2 separate regions of the Homo sapiens genome follow, and region 1 is linked to region 2. Evidence: promoter capture Hi-C in 16 types of primary human blood cells and fetal thymus (Javierre and others, 2016). All regions are on one chromosome and are shown on one strand. The core of a region is centred on a gene start or on the middle of the fragment in contact, and the rest is flanking DNA. Distances in the headings are between cores, read along the strand shown.

Region 1 (5,295 bases), core at 1,112-3,611, 170 kb after region 2:
GAGCAATTTTTAAAAAGAGCTATCCTAGATTAAAGAATACTTAAGATTCATGACAAGTTAATGTAACAAACCCTATACTAAGAAATTGCTTTAAAGGATATGATTTGGACAACAAACAAAATTGGAATATAGCCTTCCAAAATTCAGGGAGTGGGTCTCCTTAGATGAAAGTATTATAACAAAATGTTAATATTTCCAAATTTGTAACTGCATTGTGGTCAAATAAGAGAATATTCTTGTTCTTAGGAAACAAATATTGAGGAATTAAGGAGTAAATGGCCATGATGTATGCTACCTGCTCTCAGGTGGCTCAAGGAGGAAAATAAACAGATGAATGTGTGTATATAATATAATAAATGTGTATATAATAAAATATATATGTAATATCATATTATGATATATCCTATTGTACCATAAAATATATGTGGTGAGGAAAGAGAAGATGAAAAAGCAAATGTGGCAAAATGTTAAAAATTGGTGAATCAGGGTAAAAGGAATATGGGGGTTTCTGGTTCCATTCATGCAACTTTCTTGTGTGATTGCTATTTCTTTAAAATAAAAAGTTTAAGAAAACAGTGCGCCTTGTTTCAAAGTTTGATGGATGTTGCAAGTTGCCCTCTAAAAAGGCTGAACCAATTTATATTCCCACAATGCTGTGGAGGGTTGGTGCAGCTGTTTAATGTAGCTATTTTTATTCAGCTATTTTGATGCCAGGGACTTTCTTTGATGGGGTCATATATCAGTTTTGACCTGGGGACATTTTGTTGTTTTCCAAATTTATTATGAATATTTCCAAAAGTATAGAAAAGTCAAAAGTATGCTGAAGTGAACACCCATGCCACAGCCCCTGCCCCTAGTTTCAACAGTTGTTGTTATTGTGCCATATTTATTTATCAGCACACATTTGTTTTTTGGGGGGCATGGAAATTGGGATGCAGAAAGATTAAGTAACCACCAAAGGTAAATGCTGGGGCCACACGCCGTGTCCTCTGCACGTTGTCCTTCTGCCTCTGAGGTACTTTTTTTCTTTTTTCTTTTTCTGTTTCTGTTTTTTTTTTTTTTTTTGAGACAGAGTCTTGCTCTGTCACCCAGGCTGGAGTGCAATGGTGTGATCTCGGCTCACTGCAATCTCCACGTCTTGGGTTCAAGCGATTCTCATGCCTCAGCCTCCCGAGTAGCTGGGATTATAGGCACACACCACCACAGCCAGCTAATTTTTTTGTTTTTTTTGTATTTTTAGTAGAGACGGGGTTTCACCATGTTGGCCAGGCTGGTTTCGAACTCCTGACCTCAAATGCTCCGCCCACCTCGCCTCCCAAAGTGCTGGGATTACAGGTGTGAGCCACCGTGCCTGGCTGGATTTTTTTCCTGAAGCAGTTGAGTGTTGGATTCAGACAGGTCTGGATTTGAATTCCACCTCTGACACTGAACAAACTACATAACCTCCCAGTTATGGCCTCTGTGTGTTCGTCCCGTAAGTGGGGATGGTGGTACTCACCTCACATGATCGTTGTGAGATAGATGAGATAAGGTGTTTAAAGCCCGTGGTAGTTATTAGTATTGTCATTTCTTCTGTATCTCTCTTTTCATTTGAAACAGATTCCCAGGCACCCTCCTCTGGGAAAATTGATCCCTAAATCATTCTTCTGCTTGCCAATACCTTGTCTGGCCCATCTATTGCTGGTGTGTAGTCCTTGCCTACTCCCATAGACTTGGAGGGCCAATGTTCTAAGCAGCTTAGAAAAGCTGATATTCAGGCACGTGTGCTGGGGCGATGTTCAGTAACCTGACATGACGTATCATGGCCAAGAGTCGCAGGCGTCTCAGTGGTTAGGCAGCAGGGCTTCCTGGGGCACTCACCCTCAGTGTGAGCAGGTCTGGACGAATTCCTAGCAGACCCAGCAGAGCAAGGAAAGGGCCTGTGGACCACTGCTGCCTTCTCTGCCGTCTCCAGGACTTCCTCCCATCTCACCAGGATTCCAGTTTGTGGGAAAAGGGAGGAACAGGGACTAGGGTAAGAAGAAGGAGGCAGCCACTTGGAGCAAAGTTTAAGGGGGCACTAAAGATTAATCAAGGTAAGTAATATATGAATGTAGTTTTTTTTTTAAATCAAATTCTGTAAACCATGGACTATGGGCTGCCTGTTTTTGTAAATAAAAATAAAGTTTGAAGGCCCCAGTCAGCCCATTCCCCTCTCTGTGGCCCCAGGAATTGGGGGGCACTGGACAGTGTACTCACTGACATTTTCTCTCCTCTGTAGAACAATGTCAGTATTGCCTGCAATTCTAGTCGTCACAGCTCCTTCACCGTTTAGAGGGCCGGGTGCCATGGCTCACCCAGCACCTGGTTCTCAGGCTTCTGGCCAGCGTGGCAGAGCTGAGGCCATGTGGAGGGCTGGAAGTGGGTGGCACACTTCCCTGTCCTGGCAGAGGAGTGCACATGGAGCTCTGTAGTTTCTGTCCCCACCGTGGCCTTAGACCTGAAGGTATGAATCCATGCAAGAGGCTGCTATTGGGAGTCAGAGAACTGGCTCACATTTACCAGCTGCGTGACCTTGGAAAGCCACCTAATCTCTCTGAAGTTTCATTCTCAGTTTCATTACCTGTCCATTGGGGATGATGTGGTCCAACCTCTTTCTCTTTGAGCTCTTCAGTAAGAGGTTGTTGAGTAGGAATCAGAGCCCATGTATGGGAAATGCTTTGTAAACTGGGATGTGCTCTGGAAACACAAGCTGTTCTTATAATGGTGGTTACGATTGATTCTGGTGGACAGCTCCTGGCCCAAGCCTGGTGGAATGGTCATCCATAGAGGGAAATGAGATCCAATATCCCAAGCCCCTGCCCAGAGGGGGAAAGCGCAATGACTGGCGGTCGGGAGAACTGTCTGCCACATGCAGCCAGGTTCACAGACACCTCTTGAGGTCCTGTGCCTATGTTCCTACCCACTCTTCAAACAGGTGGCTTCTTAATGCTTTTCCCCGCCCCACTCCTGGCTCAGCTTGTGGAGTTCTCCATTCCACTGACTTTCCTAAGAGCCATGTGGAGAGGAAAGATGTGAAGAGGGAAGGCATGTCCAGGTACTGGGATAGGCCCCTTAGGTGACCATCTCACACTCCTAGGTGATTGTAAGGCAATGACTGGGGAATTCACTTTCTCTACCCTACTTTCATTTAACCCTTCATTCAACAAGAAGAGAAACCTACAGCCAGCTCTTGGATAATGAGGTTGAAAGTCCTTGGAACCCTGTTTAAGAGGCTGACAGGCAGGCAGCCTCCTTGGCTTAGGATGTATGACCTTATGGTATGTCCATGCTGCTGGGGACAGTCATAGTGTTTCTTTTTAAAATTTTATTTGTCCATAAGTAATTGGGGTACAGGTAGTATTTGGTTACATGGGTAAGTTCTTCAGTGGTGATTTGTGAGATTTTGGTGCACCCATCACCCAAGCAGTATACACTGCACCATATTTGTAGTCTTTTATCCCTTGCCCCCCTTCAACTCTTCCCTCTCTTACCCCAAAGTCCCCAAAATCCATTGTATCCTTGTTATGCCTTTGCATCCTCATAGCTTAGCTCCCACGTATCAGTTTCCATTCCTGAGTTACTTCACTTAGAATAATAGTCTCCAGTCTCATCCAGATCACTGCAAATGCCGTTAATTCATTCCTTTTTATGGCTGAGTAGTATTTCATATTCTATCCTATATACTATATATCTATCACAGTTTCTTTATCCACTCCTTAATTGGTGGACGTTTGGGTTGGTTCCACGATTTTGGAATTCTGAATTGTGCTGCTATAAACATGCACGTGCAAGTGTTTCTTTCAAATAATGACTTTTCTCTCTGGGTCTCTTGAGAGCCCTCCAAGCATCTGGCCCCTCCCCTTTCAGGACTGTGTTTCGAGGTGAGCAGAGAAGATGAACAGAGGCTGAGGGCAGCCTGGCTGGAAACAGGAGGTGGAGGCAGGAGGTGGGAGCTGATTCAATCTTCAGACTATAATGCAAAGGTTAGTAGCCAGTTTATGAGTGAAGGGGGCCGTTTAGGCAGGATAGAAAGGGGTCTAAACATGAGTTATAAGACAAGATAATGTTTTGGCAGGTGGGATTTTTGCTGTATGCAGAGGTGAACTTCTGAGCATAGAGAAATGGACGTTAGGTAGGCATAAACACACCTCTGTCTAATCACTATCACTTCCATAATCAGTCGGAGCTTCTGTTTGATGTGTGTCCTCCCTCTCCCTATGCCTTAGGGGATGGCAGCCTCCCATTTGTGCATAGGTGTCTTTCACGGGGCCAGCAGGCAGTATGGGTTCCCTGCTAGTGAATTCCCATTTCCTACGAGGGAGGCAGAAGGGTGCCCATGTGGTGATCTCCCAGACCAGGTTCTCATCTCCACTTGACCAGTCTGTAGGTGTAAGCCTTGGAAGTAGCTCCTCTATAAAATGGGAATGAATCATATCCCATTATAGGGGCTTTGGAATGAGTAAATGAGATAACATAGATGGATTGCCTGGTACAGACAAGGCTTGGTATGTAGCAGACACTCAATAAATGTTTCCTCCCTTCTCTGTGCCTCTTCTCTCCCTTCTCAATGCAGCAGTGTGGGGTTCTGCTTGGAGCAGCTGAGTCCCTACCCTGCACATCCCTGTGCCTCCCCAGGCTGCTCAGACACTGCCCTTGCAGCTTCTTTTTGTGGGAAAGGTAGTTGCCCTTGGATCTTGTGTTCCCACAGCCAAAGCTTCTCTCACTTTTGTCTGCCTGGGAGGCCTCTGTTGCCTTCTTTTCTAGCCCGGTCTTGCCTACAGATGCCCCATCCCATACTTCTTGCTCTTCTGCCTTGCTTGGGTGGGCCCAGCGCAGGGGACACATGGACACCTGTCATGCCAATTTCTGATTTAATCAGTGTCAGCTAATTGCTGTAACACCTGATTCCAAATTTTTTAGCCCACAAGATAAAAGTTTATTTCTCACTCATATCACAGTCTGGTGAGGCCCGTGGTGGGGTTCTGTCCCCTTCCCCTCCCCTCACCCACCCCTCCTGTCATTCAGGGACCCATACTAGTAGACCCTGTTGATAAATGCTGACAGAGGAAAAGGCAAATTTACTCTTACCTTCCTACCTATCTCAGCCTGGGAGAGAAACATCACTCCCTCTTTCTTCCACTCCATTGGCAAAGACTACTCTCATGGTCCCATCTGGACCAAGCTGAGAAATGGAGGGAGCCTCCATGTCTGGGAAAAGCAGGTTTAGGGAGCACTTAGCAGTATCCCTGCAGGAAAACCACAACCTCTCCATAG
Region 2 (5,488 bases), core at 2,135-4,634:
GCCCTTGAGGGAATGAATGCAACTCTCAAAATTCAAAACATTTAAAAACTGTTAAAACAGTTTTCAAGGGCAGCAGGGTTGGTTATCAGGGTCATTTAGGGAGAATTTTTGTAGTACAGATGCCCATTTTCCACTTCCACCTCTCCACTGCATACATATGAAAGCATTATTTTAGAAGTCATTTGCTATCCACATTGCCTGCCTATTTCTGTATGTGGTGAATCACCCACTTTTAGAGTCTTGATATAGAGTGGGGGGAGTGGGCTAAGACCGTCAATCCCAATGGGAATGGAAAATGACAGTTGCCAGTTCTCTTGGCCTCCCTTGCAGCTAGAGGGTAAACACGTATGGCCTAGCCATGGCCAATCTGATGTACCTGTGTTTCACTCTGCCTTGGGACCTGGTGATGCAACAGGGAAGGGAAGGAAAGCTCTCGCTCTGGCTGCGGCTGCAAGTGGTAGCCGCAAGGTCGAGTTCCTGGCACAGCATGGGGATACGTTCTGGCAGCGGGAGCTGCTGCAATAAAATTGAGATCCTGGCGCGGAAGGAGTATTCAGTGCTCCTTGGTGGCCGAGGAGGTTTCCTCACTAGACCAGCTCGTTGGTGCTGCTTACGGTACTGTTCCTGGAAGCTCAGCCTTGAGTCTTATTCTCCAGCCCTCTCAACCACTCAGGGGCCGCCACTCTCTTCTTAACACCCTTCTTTTCTGCAGAGCCCCCCATAGCCAGTGCCAGTGACTTACCACTTGGAACCCTCATGACACACCTATGGAGTAGAATACACAAACCACATAGACTTTTGGGATAAGACCTAAGACTTCAAAGCTCATTGGGTCTTGCCCCAGGCAGCTATAGGCTATATCCTCTACTGCTGCAGGAGTATATGCACTCTACTTTCTGATAGGAGTTGAGGGCTTTCAGGCACGTTTTGGAGAAGCACTGTTCTAGGGAAATGACTGGGAGGCTGCTAGGGCCTTACAGAAATGGGAGAGAACATCTGCTGGCTCTGCAGCCCAAATTCCTAGTGACCTAGCCTGTCCACACTCTCCTTGCCTTCTTGTCCCCCTGACTCTTTTCTTCCAGCAGAAGGGCCACTTCCAGCAGAAGGCCCTTCCAGCAGAAGGGCCACTCGTTACGGATTACTCCATCCTCTGCATTGCAACAATAATTGAGCTTTGATCTTTTCTGACATGGAGCCTAGGCCCTCTTTTATATAACCAAGGAAGATCCACTCTCCAGTGGAGGATCTGGAGTGTGGAGGAGAAAGGAGGAGATACCTGGAAGTGAGCAAGAGTTTGTTTTATATCTTGCACCCATGGGAGGCTTTGGAACAAGCTGGTCTTATTGGGCATTTTCCTCCCTTAGGCTGTTTTTCGAGGAAAGGGTCTGCAGGCTGGCTTTGCCTGGGGTCTCCTGAATATCATCTCTGCCCACCAGGCATCAAAAGCCATGCACTTTTCCTCTTCTCTGCTCTGGTTGTGAATAAGTGACACAGATCTCTACACTGTCATTCATAGCATCGGTGAGAAACGGCCATCAGAAAAATATTTGGAGAAAAAGTTCAGCAGAAAGGGCCCAGCCATTAGGGGTCTTTTTTTCTCTGTCATAGTCACTAGTGTGCATACATGAGTCTGGAGCCATGGCGAGTTTGTGCTAGGTGTTGGGCACCTCTCAGGGCAGTCCTGATGCCTGGTGTTTCCTGGGCTTCTCTGCATTCTTTGCCCTTTCTAGTGTCAGAGCCTTTAGAAGTGATGTGATCAGAGAGGATTGGGAGTAGGGGACTCGTGGGCTGACCTGGAACTAGGCCTCGCCACACACTGGAGAAGGCATTCTGGACTGTGGTACATGTATTCAGAGCAGTCTCATTTCTATCAAGAAGTTGATGCCCTCTGTTGACTTTCTAACTACAAATACCCTGGGCAGGCCATTTCCCCTTCTCCCAAGAGTAGGTCTGATAACTAAAGAGCCAACGAATCCAAACAACTCCTGCTTCAGTCAGGAATCAGCCCTGAGACTAGAGCGCCTGTCAACATACTCAGCCCTCTAGATTCTGTTTCTTTCCCCTGCCTGCCTTCCCAAGAGGTTCCCAGGGCTCTGGAGGCAGCTCCAGCCTATGTGGCTGGTAGTGGCAAGGCCATCCACAGCAGCATTACTTAAGCAAGGCAGGTGGAAGGTGGATGTTCAATGAGCACAGAGGCTCTGGGGACAGAAGAACCAAGGGCAGAGCAGCAGCAGGAATTCCAAGGAGCTCCAGAGCTGGAGGGGAGGAGAGAGGCAGAAGTCATTCTCCTGCATGGGCTGTCAGGCCTAACTCCTAAAGAACTGGCCCGCAGTCCGCCTAGTGCATCCTCACACCAGCCTCGGAGACAGCTTGCCATCCAGGACCCTGAGGTTCTCTGGCTTTTCAGGGGCTTATTTAACCTCCATTATCATCCCTCTGTACTCCATTCACATTGTGTTCTGTCGTCTGGAGAACAGAGAGGCCCGGATCCTGCTTTCCACAATCACTCTATAAACAGTCACTTTATTTTACCAATCTACAACTTACAAATTTACCCAGAAAGTGTGTAGGACAAGTAAAATTGATGGATAAGTTCAAGTGGAGACAGCAGGTTTCAAATCTTACCCTATCCAAACCTGCGTTCCTTTTACGCCTTTCATGCCTTCCATCTATAGGAGGCTGGGAGAAAGTCTCAAGAAAGGAGAAACTGAGGCTGTAAATTGTGCAAGGCCACACAGGGAGCTCCCCATCTAAAAGTCTGACTCAGCCCAAAGGTTTCCCAGCGTCCCCTGTGCCCTGCAGTGTGCTGTGGGGGGGAGCAGGCCTCTGCTACCCATGAGTCAGCCCTGAGGCTCTGGCCGCCTTCCTCCAGGGTATCTTCCAATCTTGCTCTACACCCGTTAGGGAGTGGCTGGGAGGAAAAAGACTCCCAGGGGTGACGGAAGCACCCACAGGCCTGCACAGGGAGTGAAACTGGGGCAATCACGGGGCTGCGCGTTGCCACGGGACTGCGCGTTGCCACGGGACGCCGGTGCCACTGCGGGGAAGCGACGGCAGCCATGGGGGAGAGGGTCGGGTTCGCTGACCTCGTTCGGGGGAGCAATGGGCGCCCCCCGGCGGGCAGGCCCTTGTGGCAAGGAGGCCAAGGTGCCGGGGGACCCGGGGACCCGGGTCGGGCGCGCGTTACCTCCTCCGCGCTGCAGCAGCGAGCTCGGGTTCGCCTGCTGGTCTGAGAGCGTACCCTGTGCGGCGCGCCGCTTCTCCGAGTGCACGATCAGCAGCATGTCGATAGATACAGCGTTGATGTCCTTCTTCAGCTCCATGATGCCGCCTCCTTTCCGACCTGGGCGCCGCGGCCGCACGCTAGGCTGCTTGCGCTGCAAATGGCCCCGTGCGCGCAGCTGCCCCACACGGGAGAGGGCGAGGGCGCGGAAGAGGGCGCTCCCCCGCCGCTGGAGCCGCAGGGCGCTGCTTTTCGCTGACTCTGCCAAACACGCCATTAGGGCCCGCCTGGGAGGGCGCTACCCTAATGAAGCGGCTCTAAGTCACCTTTGAAAGGAAATCCCCGGGCCCAAGCCTTGACCTGCACCGGGGCCATAGTCAGCAGGGGCGGCCGGTCCAGAGCCTCCCTCCCTGCGCCCCTGCCTCCCGCCCGGTGCACTTGAAGCGCTGGTCCTGGGCTCCAGGGCTTCTCTGGCTGAGCGCTGCCTCATCCCCACGGTCTCCGGAGGGTTCTCGAGAGGGCTGGAGCCGACCTCCCACGAGAAGCCCCTGGCAAATACAGAAATCGCACAGTGCTGTCAACATTGAGAGTAGATTCAGGAAAAGGAAAGACAGCAAAGGGGCTCCAGATTGAATTGCAAGATGTGCAGAGATTGTCCAAGTTTTGGCCTCGACCTCACTCCTTCCCTGGGTTGGTTTTGGAGGTTGACAGCTCTCTCTCCCTAGGAGGGAGTTGGGTGGGGTGTTGGAGTCAGGAGCTCCCCCCAGTTACGGCCCCTGTAGAACTTGGAACATGCCCATTGAGTATCAAGCTAACGATCCTCTTTGATCTGAAACGAAAGTCTTAAAGTCTCGGTTCGTTCTAGAAGCCTGGCTCCTGCCCTGTGGGGAAGGAGGGAGGGGGAGAGGAGGAGGCTGGGGCACAGGGAGCTGGACCTGAGAAGCCTTCTATTTTTAGCCCGGCCTGGCCTGCCCAGCCAACAGCAGCAGGGGTTTGGCTGTAGGTCTCAGGAGTGTTTACATAGGCTTCTGCCTGGTACCCCTGGGCACTACGGGCCCACCCTGCTGGGGGCGTTCCCCTAATTCGAGTTTCTACTGTTAATAAATGCACCCCCACATGGAGGCCTTTGCTCTGGGAGCCCTCCCCGCATTGGAGTGTATGGACCCCACCTTGTAGCATGGTCCTGAGAGTTCCCAGATCCTCCTTGGAGCAGCCTGTGTCACACAGACTGCATTCCAGTACCAGCTCCATCACTTCCTGGCTGTGTGACCTTGGACCAGCCATTTTCCCTCCACCTTCTCACCCTTATCACTGGGTTGATAAAAATTTCTCACATGGCTGTTGTGAGAATGGCATGAATGTAAGGCGCCTGGTGTATAGAAAGTGGTCTTCATATGGTAGCTGTCATTCTTACTTCATTTTAAGGGTGAGGAAAGGGAAAGATGGAGTGACAAGTGACTGATGGAGCAGAGAAGCAGGAGAGATGTCACAGCCACACTCTGAGATTCTGAAGGTCTTCCTCCAATAACAGTGGCTCAGAGTTTGGTTCCGTGTAAAGGCTGTTGTCTTATTGCATTACCAGCGCCCCCCCCCACCACCCCACCCCCTGACTCACCCACTGGGCATCTGATGGAAGGAGAGGTTGTTGGCTTCCAGTAATGTTGAACTGGAGTCCCTAGAGAGCTGAGGCCATAGACAGGCAAGTGGAGATGGCTGACTTCCAAGGCAGGTTTCCTTCTGCTAAAGTGAGTCTTGTCCTGTCTGTATGTGTGCAGGTACACACACACACACACACACGCGCGCGCGCACACCTGGGAGGCTGGCTAACACTTACTCTCTATGTGGCTGGGGAAGTAAGAACTATGCATTATGCAAAGCTCTTGGGGTGTTGGAGATTGCTGAGGCAGATCTCAGGTCCCAGAGTCCCCCCAACTACCCTGGGCCAGTCAGTGTTGTCTAACTCCTTCAAGTGTCAGGTTGTCTGAAGTGCTGAAATCAACTAGAAGCCTGTGTACAGCACCCTTGGTTGCCGGATGGGTCTGAGTGTTGGTGATGGTGGGGGGAGCTGAAGTCCCCTTTCCTTACACTTGCATTCCCATCTCCCAACCCTTGCTCTCCTGCTGGAAAGTGTCATTGCTAGGAACTCGCAAACTCTGGTGCCCCCTCCCAGAACTGCCTCTGGAGAAGGATATTCTGACCTGGGAATGTGCTGCCAGGGGTCTGGGGAAATGGTGTGGAGGCCTCCTGTCTCTCTGCTATGTCTGA

Evidence for each region. The method cuts DNA at HindIII sites, captures the fragments that hold promoters and counts their contacts. A CHiCAGO score of 5 or more calls a contact.
Region 1: a fragment that was not itself captured here is called in contact with the fragment with the promoter of KY in region 2 in 1 of 17 cell types (neutrophils); the score reaches 5.3 in neutrophils.

What each region holds. Positions count from the first base shown.
Region 1 is chr3:134,815,036-134,820,330 of GRCh38, forward strand. All of the region lies in intron 1 of EPHB1 (EPH receptor B1), which reads left to right. Among named protein-coding and RNA genes, the nearest start is that of EPHB1, 22 kb to the left of the region's middle. The HindIII fragment of the contact is 4,743 bases long and covers 1-4,733 here.
Region 2 is chr3:134,647,638-134,653,125 of GRCh38, forward strand. KY (kyphoscoliosis peptidase) reads right to left here and starts at 3,385. Exons shown (of 11, transcript NM_178554.6): 1 at 3,188-3,385. The coding sequence starts at 3,323. It also overlaps a transcript of CEP63 not described here. The HindIII fragment of the contact is 8,919 bases long and covers 1-5,488 here.